Linked DNA regions of Homo sapiens: regions 1 and 2 are each linked to region 3. The links are contacts of gene promoters, found by promoter capture Hi-C in blood cells and fetal thymus (Javierre and others, 2016). All regions are on one chromosome and are shown on one strand. The core of a region is centred on a gene start or on the middle of the fragment in contact, and the rest is flanking DNA. Distances in the headings are between cores, read along the strand shown. Region 1 overlaps PAN2 (poly(A) specific ribonuclease subunit PAN2). Region 2 holds the start of BAZ2A (bromodomain adjacent to zinc finger domain 2A). Region 3 holds the start of AGAP2 (ArfGAP with GTPase domain, ankyrin repeat and PH domain 2).

Region 1 (3,014 bases), core at 479-2,978, 1.4 Mb after region 3:
GCAGGTATGAAATCAGGATAGAAATAGTTAAAGCCATCATGACAGGCCCCTCTGTGATTTAAAAGGTCTCCTAACTTCCTCAATGTGCATATATCATCCTCTCCACTCTTAGCAGCTTTTGCTCATCGGGGGACTCTGTTATTGGGCAGCTCTTCAGCTGTGAGATGGAGAACTGCAGCCTCTGCCGCTGTGGCAGTGAGACCGTGCGAGCCTCATCCACTCTGCTTTTCACACTCTCCTACCCTGATGGTAGCAAAAGTGGTATACCCTTCAGCTCAGTTGGGAAGGCTCCCCAAAATGTCCTGTAATATCAGGGAGAGGGTGTTGGGGACTAACTGTGGGTAGAGGGGAGAACCAGGAGTATAGCATCTAATTTTCCCTCAGATAAAACTGGGAAGAACTATGACTTTGCTCAGGTGCTGAAGCGAAGCATCTGCCTGGACCAGAATACACAGGCCTGGTGTGACACCTGTGAAAAGTACCAGCCCACGGTGAGTGGACTGTTGGACTGGACTAGAGTCCTGGTCCTGCCATGGAGATTCAGCCACTATCCCATGTGGGGCTGGCTCTGTCAGCACTGCCATCCAGGGATCTCTGGTGGAGTGAGGAATCCCAGTTTGAAGACGCAGACCCAGGTCCCTGTCCAGACTCCTTTTCCTGTACATTCCCTGCCATTCCTTGTTTGTTTCTTCCTCTCAGATTCAGACCCGCAACATCCGCCATCTGCCAGATATTCTTGTCATCAATTGTGAGGTGAACAGCTCAAAAGAGGCTGATTTCTGGAGAATGCAGGCTGAGGTAAGGACTCAGACTAGAAACAAGGCTTCCGGAATAATTTTTCATTTTATCCCCCTTCTGACCTCCATATATGATTACATTCCTGAAGAACTGGATGTTTTTCTTCTGTGTTCAGGTTGCCTTCAAGATGGCAGTAAAGAAACACGGTGGGGAAATCTCCAAGAACAAGGAATTTGCTTTGGCTGATTGGTAGGTGCTGTCTTGGGAGTTGTCAAAGGATTGAATTGCCCAGTGGTTCCTCTTATCAAGACCTCTTTCGGAACAAATTTCCAATTCTTCTGACCTGATAGGAAGGAACTAGGGAGTCCAGAGGGTGTGCTGGTGTGTCCCTCCATTGAGGAGTTGAAGAACGTCTGGCTTCCTTTCTCCATTCGCATGAAGATGACCAAAAACAAAGGGCTGGATGTTTGCAATTGGACTGATGGGGATGAGATGCAGGTTGTTGAAAAACCGGGAAGAGGAAAGGGAATAAGGGAGAGAAGGTGGGGCAGAAGGTAAAGGAGGGCAGGGGAAGGTGAAACTTAGCAGAGGGAAAAGGAAGAGAATAAGGCCTAGTATTTACCTGTTAGGGGATTTTCCATAGTCACTCAGTTCAGTGTTGGGGTCCTAGATGGGCTAGGATGGAGATAACCCACCCTGGTCCCCCATCCCCCATACCCCCAACTCCCTGTCCTCTGTCCCCATTCCCCTCCCTTCCCCATCCTTAAACTTAGCTTAGCAGCCTGGGTACCCCCCTCACAGTGGGGCCCAGCCAGGGCAGAGGAGGAGCATGGTGTCTATGTGTATGACCTGATGGCTACTGTGGTACACATCCTGGACTCACGCACAGGGGGCAGCCTGGTGGCTCACATCAAAGTTGGAGAGACCTACCACCAGCGCAAGGAGGTGAGTGAGGTTGTAGAGGGCAGGAACACTCCTGGGATGGCCACAGTGAGTCCCAGATCTGTCCTTGAGTCTGAGACAGAGTGGTCCAGCCATCAATTTGTATCGCCACAGGCTTTCTTTGTATTTCCATAGGGCGTTACTCACCAGCAGTGGTATCTGTTCAATGACTTTCTTATTGAACCTATTGATAAGGTTAGTTGCAACATGTTCTGTTTCTTCTTTCATTTCCCCTTTTCCTAGCATCCTTATCTTTAGGGCTCTATAGAATGCCAGGCAGATTCAACAGGGAGGGAGGAAGGAATCCTCAGGAATAAAAACCATTAGCACTTAAAAATAGCACCTGAAAAAAAACAAAAACTAGCACCTGAGTCCTGGCCTCCGTCTGAAGTGGGGGAAAAGGAAAAGGGTGATATACATTAGCCATAAGTGCTTTTTCTCTTCTATAGCATGAAGCTGTGCAGTTTGACATGAATTGGAAAGTACCTGCAATCCTTTATTATGTCAAACGGAATCTCAATTCCAGATACAACCTGAACAGTAAGTGCTACATAGTAGACCCAAGTGTGTGGACAGTTTAGATTGGGCTTCAGGGTGAGATCTGGGACATTGCTTGCAAGTACTTAGGATTGGTAACCAGTGTTAATATTTCTGGAGATACTAAAGAGATTCCTGCTCATCAGACCTTAAATTTAGAAGTGCGAAATCCAGCCTGAGCAACATAGCAAGATCCCATCTCTTTGAAAAAAAATTTTTTTTTTTTTTTTGAGATGCAGTCTTGCTCTGTCACCCAGGCTGGAGTGCAATTGCGCAATCTCGGCTCACTGCAACCTCTGCCTCCTGGGTTCAAGCGATTCTCCTGCCTCAGCCTCCTGAGTAGCTGGGATTACAGACGCCCACCACCACACCCGGCTAATTTTTTTGTATTTTTAGTAGAGACAGGGTTTCACCATGTTGGTCAGGCTGGCCTCGAACTCCTGACCTCATGATCTGCCCGCCTCAGCCTCCCAAAGTGCTGGGATTACAGGCGTGAGCAACTACACCCAGCCTAAAAAAATTTTTTTTTTTTTTTTAATTAGCCTAGTATAGGCCAGGCACAGTGGCTTATGGCCTGTAATCCCAGCATTTTGGGAGGCTGAGGCGGGCAGATCACTTGAGCTCAAGAGTTCAAAACCAGTTTGGGCAACATGGTGAAACCCTGTCTCTACAAAAAATACAAAAAGTAGCTGGGTATGGTGATGTGCTCCTGTTGTCCCAGCTACTTGGGAGGCTGAGGCAGGAGAATCACTTCAGCCTGGGAGTCAGAGATTTCAGTGAGTCAAGATTGCATCATT
Region 2 (3,336 bases), core at 726-3,225, 1.1 Mb after region 3:
GGCCTCAGTTTTATGCCTTTCTTCACCTGCCTTAATTTTTTATTTGGGGATAGAGAGGCATTTCTTAGCAGAAGTTTGCCAGAGCCCTCCTTTCTCCAGAAGGAAGGAAACCTCTACCCTGAGTGTGACCTCTACTTACTCAGGGACTTGAGGTCAGCAGGCTGTTGGAGGAGTATTTTTTTTTCCCCAAGGTGACCTGTAAATCTGTTGTTTTGACAGGGAGGAGAGAAGGGTTTTGGTTTCCACCTGCCTATTCCCTCCACTGGTAATCTACTTATCTCGAGAGAGGAAGAGAAACCCCCTTAGCCTTCTGTGTCTGTGGCCCACACACTCTGTGAGCCTTTGCTAAAGCTAGCTTCCTTCTTATCCTCTCTGAGCCATTTGTAGTGGGGGGGTGGAGGGGTGGAGTCTTTCCCCAAAATTCAGGAAGAGCCCACCCCTCTGTGGAGTAAGGAAATCCAATGTAGACTGATGGATCTCACCCCCCAACTCTGCCCATTTTTCAGATCTCTTTCCTCCTCAGACCCCCAGAGGAAAACGTATTTGTTGACACCCCAACTTGCCAGAGTTTCATCATCCCCACTCTGTTGCTTTTCCAGAATATTCAGCAGCCTGAGCTTTGCACAGTTTAGGCAACTGTTTCTAGAACTGCATTGCATTGAATTAAATGGGAATTATCTTCAAGGCTGCAAAGTGTTGAGTTGCAAGGAAAGGAAACCTGGTTTCCTTTCTTGTCATATTTTATCCACTGTTTGACATTGAAGAAGTCATTGAACCTCTTTGGGTCTTAATTTCTTCATTTGATGAAGGAGAGAAGGTTGAACTAGAATTTTTTTTTTTTTTTTTTTTTGAGATAGAGTCTCCCTCTGTCACCCAGGCTGGAGTGCAATGGCGCGATCTCAGTTCACTGCAACCTCCACCTCCCAGGTTCAAGCGATTCTCTTGCCTCGGCCTCCTGAGTAGCTGAGATTACAGGGGCACGCCACCACACCCAGCTAATTTTTGTATTTTTAGTAGAGACCGGGTTTCATCATGTTGGTCAGGCTGGTCTTGAACTCCTGACATCATGATCCACCTGCCTCGGCCTCCCAAAGTGCTGGGATTACAGCCGTGAGCCACCGCGTCCGGCCTGAACTAGAAATTCTCTAAGCTCTAACATCATATGACACTGTTCTTCATCCTGGTGCCCTGCAGTGGACATTTTAGGTGACAGCCAAACTCTAGTCCTCTGCTAGATTTTACTTTTCTGAGTTTTCACACAGTTATGTAGCCCTGTCAGAAAAAAATTCCCAGAACCATAGAATGGGTGGACATTTGTGGCATCTTTTTGCTGATTAGTTTTCAGCTTATCCTTTACTTCTCTGACTGCATTTAGGCTACACTCAGGTCTTTGCTGTCTGGTTCCAGAGCCGAACCTTCTTTCCCCCACGCACAGGAATCTTTCCTTTCCGGTGACCAGGGCCCTGCAGATGTCGCCAGGAAAGTGGTGATCCAGGCAGGACCAGGCTGCACTGAAGGGACAGAGGTGAGTGGGTGGCTGACTCTTGCCTCTCCCCATCCCTTTACTGAATCGCGACCTGAGTGACTAACCTTTCTATTTCCACGTTTCCATTACCCTACCTGGGAAATAACTGCCCCCGAAATTCCCCTGACTCTTACCCCTACCAGCCTGTTAGAGAAGTGGCACCTGCCTTTGGGCCTAGACGTTTGGTCTAGTCTTTTAAGTTAACCTTGGGACTGTGGCATGCCTTTCAGTTTGCCCTGTGTGAAGCAGGACCACTGCCTCCATGAGATGCGGGTGCAGAGGGAGCTGCCAGGTGGGCAAGGTGGCCAGAGTTGCAGGAGGCACAGCGGCGCTAGGACCCAGGTCCGGGTCGGAAAGATGGGCTGGCGGGCTTTAGGACCCTGTGGCGGAGGCCGCGTGGGGAGACTCTCTCCCGGCCGAGGCTTCTCCGCCCCCTCCGGCTCCGACTCACTCCTCCCCCGCCGGCCATGTTGGCTCCTCTCGGGCCCCGCGGTTGAGCCGCGTCCCCCTCCCCCTTCCCGAACCCCGGACCCCAGACCCCCTCCCCAGCGGGCGTCTCCACCCGTTCTGGCGCCCGGAGCGCGGCCATGTGAACCGCTTGTACCCCGGGGAGAGACGAGCCCCGAGCCCGGCTGGACGCCGCTGCCTCAGGTTTGTGGGGTCTGTGGCCAGGGGCCTGAGGGGGAGGGAGCCCCGCTTTCATCCGAGGCTTCCCTCGGGGAACAGAAGCTCCAGAGCCGGCTTGAGCCTTGCCGGGGCGGGAAGCCGACGGGAGCTTATTTCCTGCGAGGATCCAACCCGAGGCGAGGGTCTCCTTGCTCTGGGGTCTGGGAGGAGAACAGGGCTGGTGGGGCTGCTGAGGACCCCGGACGGGGCCGCGGGGGCAGGAGGAGCTGTAGGGGCTCCCGGCGACAGTGAGGAGGCGGAGAAGCCGCCTGGCTGGTGGAGATGACTCCTGTGGGGGACTTGGGGTGGAATCCCCGGGAGGGGCTCCACCTCCTCGGGTGGGGGTGGGGATTGCCTGAGCGCGAGGGGTGGGTGAGGGGGTTCCCTTGGCGGGTTAAAACGCTCCGTTTGCGGGGAGCTGGGCGTTTTGACTGTGGTGAGTGGAGGGCGGAAGGGGTTTCCAGGGGTCTGAGGGTGTCTCCCTCGGGGAGCGCACCCATTCTCTTGAGCGTGAAGATCAGGAGAGGGCCTTCCTTGCTGAGGGTGGTGCTGCGCTTGGCTTGGGGCCCTCGCGTCCCGGGAGAATCGCGCACTCCGGGGATGGAGGTTGATAGGGCTTCCGCTGAGGCTTTCCAATTTGAGCTGGGCTGAGGGGCAGAAGGGAAGAATAAAGAGGAATTCCTTTTTCCAAGGAGATTCCTCACTGAGGGGATCCCCGCTTCCGTGGCAGAAAGATGATACCGCATCATCCCTTTCTTTCCCGGTGTTCCCAGTTTTCAGGAGAAGGCAATGTCAATAGCAGTTGTCCTTTGTAGGGTTAATTGGAGTGAGAGATTTGTCTGCTTTGGGGGACGACGGAGGGGATAGCTTTCCACCTCTATCTGTACACAAACAGCCCCTCCCCCAGCCTCCCGCAGGAAGTGGCCGGGAAATGGCAGCTGTGCGTTTGCTGCTGCGTGTCTTGTTGTTTTGAAATGTCCATTTTAATCAGATTTGGTTTCATTTTCTGAAGCCTTCTGGGCAAGCTTGGATCTTGCCAACCATGTGGCCCGAGAGACCTTTCGTTGGACTTTTTTTTTTTTTGTAAACTTGTCAACTGGAAGTAGTCAACTTCAGTTGACTCACGTATCCCAATCCCTTCTCCA
Region 3 (3,088 bases), core at 204-2,703:
CACGCTGCGGGCTCCTGCCTCCAAGAGCCGCCCACGGCAGCACTTATTATAGTCTCAGCTGCGTCAGGAGGGTGGGACGCCAAATCAGGGGACTGCTGTGACTCCCCAAGTCCCGGGAAGGGGTCTCCAAGGCTGCAGAGAGACCTTCCTTCGCCCATCTTACCCCACCCCCAAGGGGTCTCAACCTCTTTTCCACTTTGGCCTAACCACTTCAGGATTCTCACCTGGCTGGAGGATAGAGAGCCTTGAACTCCAAGACCCCTAGAGGGGTGGGGGACACGGAGCAGACGGTTTCCATTCACTCTGCCTGCCTCCTCTTTAATCTTCTGAAAGAATCCCACTCAGCAAACCTCAGGAGACTGAAAGGGAACCCTGAAGAGGCCGGCTCTCACTGCCTCAACTGAAGGGTCCTTATACTTGGGGAGTGAAATCCTCCACCTGTGGGTAGCCAGGTGTCAGGGCAGTGCCTCCACTAATTCAGCATCCCGCGGTTGGTCCCCTACCCACCATACACACGGATTCCTCTCTGCTTCTGCCCGCTGTTTCTGAGGCACTCTTGGAGCTACGGTTGCTATGGAGACTGGATGCATTTTGGCATGGGGGGGTATCAGTCTAAGACACATCCTTCTCCCTCCTCCTAGAGCTGGAGCCTTTGACTTACCCTGTGGCCTGGGCTCCTCCAGCACTCAGATCTCTCCCTTCTCTCCTACCCTGCTAAGTTCCATGTTTGTCCCCATCCCTGGGGAACATTTTCCAAGTTCACTTTGGGACAGTCGAGCTCAAGTCTTGGCCCCGTCAAAGTATTAAATGTGGTGGTGTGAGTGGGAAAGGGAGCTGGGTCATGAGAACGGGAACCGTCCAGGTACCTGGGGGAGACAAGAGATCCTGGGGGAAGGGATTTCAGGGCCCCCACTTTCCCACTTCATCTTCCCCAGAATTGGCAGTGACCCTGGGTTTGCTCTGTTTACCGCGGCCCCTGTCCACCCAATAGATCGATTTTCACCCTTATCCCTAAATGCCATACCTCACAATCGCGCTTCCTAACCTTGGTGCGCGAGAGGAGGGGGCTAGGTTGTTGGAGGAGGTGAGTCCAAGTCCCAGGAAATCCAGCCCAGGATTTGGGAGAGAAATCCAGCCCTGGATTTTGCACCGCCCTCGCAGACATCGGTGCTGGTGGAGAAAAGGTGGGGGGGAGATAGGGTGGGGGGGCCTGGGGGCCGCCTCCTCCTCAATGTGAGGGGAGCGCCCGGACACAGCGCGCATCCGGACCAAGCCGAGCCCAGGCGAGGCCCCCGGACTCTTCGCCCGGATCTCACGCCCCTCCCCTCCCAGACCCCAGACCCGTGGGTTCCCACCCACCTCCCGTTCCCTCTTTCCTCCCCCGCCGCCTCCTGTATCTCCATCCCCAGCATCCTCCCCGCGCCCCTGCGAATCCCCCGCACGGCCAGCCCCACTAGCTTCCCACCCTCCTCTAGACCCTCTTTCCGACCGCATCCGCGGCCCCTGTCCCTTGAGTCCCAATTCCCCGCCCCTGCCTCCCCCGCACAGGTTCGTTTCCCCTAGCCTCCGGTCCCCTTTTCTGCTCCCTTTTCCTCTCTCTCCCCCATTTGCCCCCACTACTGTCCTCCCCGCCCTCCCCCACCCATCTCAGCGCCCCCACCCAGGCCGGGGTGGACGGTCCGGCGCGCCTCCCTGGAGCAGCACCAAGGTCCCGGGGCTCCAAGAGGGTGGGGGCGCAGGGCGGGGAGCATGGGGAGGGGGCGCCCCATGTGATGGGAGGGGGGCGCAAGCGGAGGCGGCGGAGGCGGCGGCGACAGCGGAGCCGGGCCGGGGGCTCAGCGGGGTCCGGGGGCTGGGGGCAGCGAGCAGGGCGGCCCCATGGCCGGGCCCCCCTGAGGCAGTCCGGGGGAGTCCCCTCCCCTCCCCAGCTCGGGGGTCTCCGGGCCCCATGAGCCGGGGCGCGGGCGCGCTTCAGCGCCGGACAACGACCTACCTCATCTCGCTGACCCTGGTTAAGCTCGAGTCGGTGCCTCCGCCGCCGCCTTCTCCGTCTGCGGCCGCGGCCGGCGCCGCCGGTGCCAGAGGCTCCGAGACTGGGGATCCTGGCAGCCCCCGAGGCGCGGAGGAGCCGGGCAAGAAGCGGCACGAACGTCTCTTCCACCGGCAGGATGCGCTGTGGATCAGCACGAGCAGCGCGGGCACCGGGGGCGCGGAGCCCCCAGCCCTGTCCCCGGCTCCGGCCAGTCCGGCCCGCCCAGTCTCCCCCGCTCCCGGCCGCCGCCTCTCCCTCTGGGCCGTCCCTCCGGGACCCCCGCTCTCCGGGGGACTGAGCCCCGACCCCAAGCCTGGGGGCGCCCCCACCTCCTCCCGGCGCCCCCTGCTCAGCAGCCCGAGCTGGGGCGGCCCGGAGCCCGAAGGCCGGGCGGGCGGCGGCATCCCTGGCTCATCCTCTCCGCACCCTGGCACCGGCAGCCGGAGGCTCAAGGTGGCGCCTCCTCCGCCGGCTCCCAAGCCTTGCAAGACCGTGACCACGAGTGGAGCCAAAGCCGGCGGGGGCAAGGGCGCGGGTAGCCGCCTGTCATGGCCCGAAAGCGAGGGCAAGCCCAGGGTCAAGGGGTCAAAGAGCAGCGCCGGGACTGGAGCTTCGGTCTCTGCCGCCGCCACCGCCGCCGCCGCCGGGGGAGGGGGCTCTACAGCTTCGACCTCTGGTGGGGTCGGGGCTGGGGCTGGAGCCCGAGGGAAGTTGTCCCCTCGGAAAGGCAAGAGTAAGACCTTGGACAACAGTGACTTGCATCCGGGACCGCCTGCCGGCTCTCCTCCTCCGCTAACCCTCCCACCAACTCCGAGTCCAGCCACTGCTGTCACCGCTGCTTCCGCGCAGCCCCCCGGGCCTGCACCTCCAATCACTCTGGAGCCTCCAGCTCCGGGGCTGAAACGGGGCCGGGAGGGGGGCCGAGCATCCACTCGTGACCGCAAGATGCTCAAGTTTATCAGCGGCATCTTCACCAAGAGCACAGGAGGGCCTCCTGGCTCCGGGCCCCTTCCCGGACCCCCCAGCCTGTCTTCTGGCAGCGGGTCCAGGGAGCTG

Evidence for each region. The method cuts DNA at HindIII sites, captures the fragments that hold promoters and counts their contacts. A CHiCAGO score of 5 or more calls a contact.
Region 1: a fragment that was not itself captured here is called in contact with the fragment with the promoter of AGAP2 in region 3 in 1 of 17 cell types (monocytes); the score reaches 5.5 in monocytes.
Region 2: the fragment with the promoter of BAZ2A here is called in contact with the fragment with the promoter of AGAP2 in region 3 in 1 of 17 cell types (total CD4 T cells); the score reaches 5.3 in total CD4 T cells.

The regions. Positions count from the first base shown.
Region 1 is chr12:56,321,284-56,324,297 of GRCh38, reverse strand. It overlaps PAN2 (poly(A) specific ribonuclease subunit PAN2), which reads left to right. Exons shown (of 26, transcript NM_014871.6): 12 at 1-4; 13 at 113-249; 14 at 385-491; 15 at 700-798; 16 at 914-987; 17 at 1,089-1,236; 18 at 1,540-1,683; 19 at 1,816-1,875; 20 at 2,130-2,220. Among named protein-coding and RNA genes, the nearest start is that of CNPY2, 6.8 kb to the right of the region's middle. RefSeq lists a silencer at 2,887-3,014. The HindIII fragment of the contact is 6,373 bases long and covers 1-3,014 here.
Region 2 is chr12:56,628,965-56,632,300 of GRCh38, reverse strand. BAZ2A (bromodomain adjacent to zinc finger domain 2A) reads left to right here and starts at 1,975. Exons shown (of 29, transcript NM_001300905.2): 1 at 1,975-2,176. RefSeq lists enhancers at 1,669-1,738, 1,769-1,818 and a silencer at 2,039-2,388. The HindIII fragment of the contact is 7,835 bases long and covers 1-3,218 here.
Region 3 is chr12:57,737,107-57,740,194 of GRCh38, reverse strand. AGAP2 (ArfGAP with GTPase domain, ankyrin repeat and PH domain 2) reads left to right here and starts at 1,453. Exons shown (of 19, transcript NM_001122772.3): 1 at 1,453-3,088. The coding sequence starts at 1,949. RefSeq lists a silencer at 2,081-2,300. The HindIII fragment of the contact is 3,748 bases long and covers 1-3,088 here.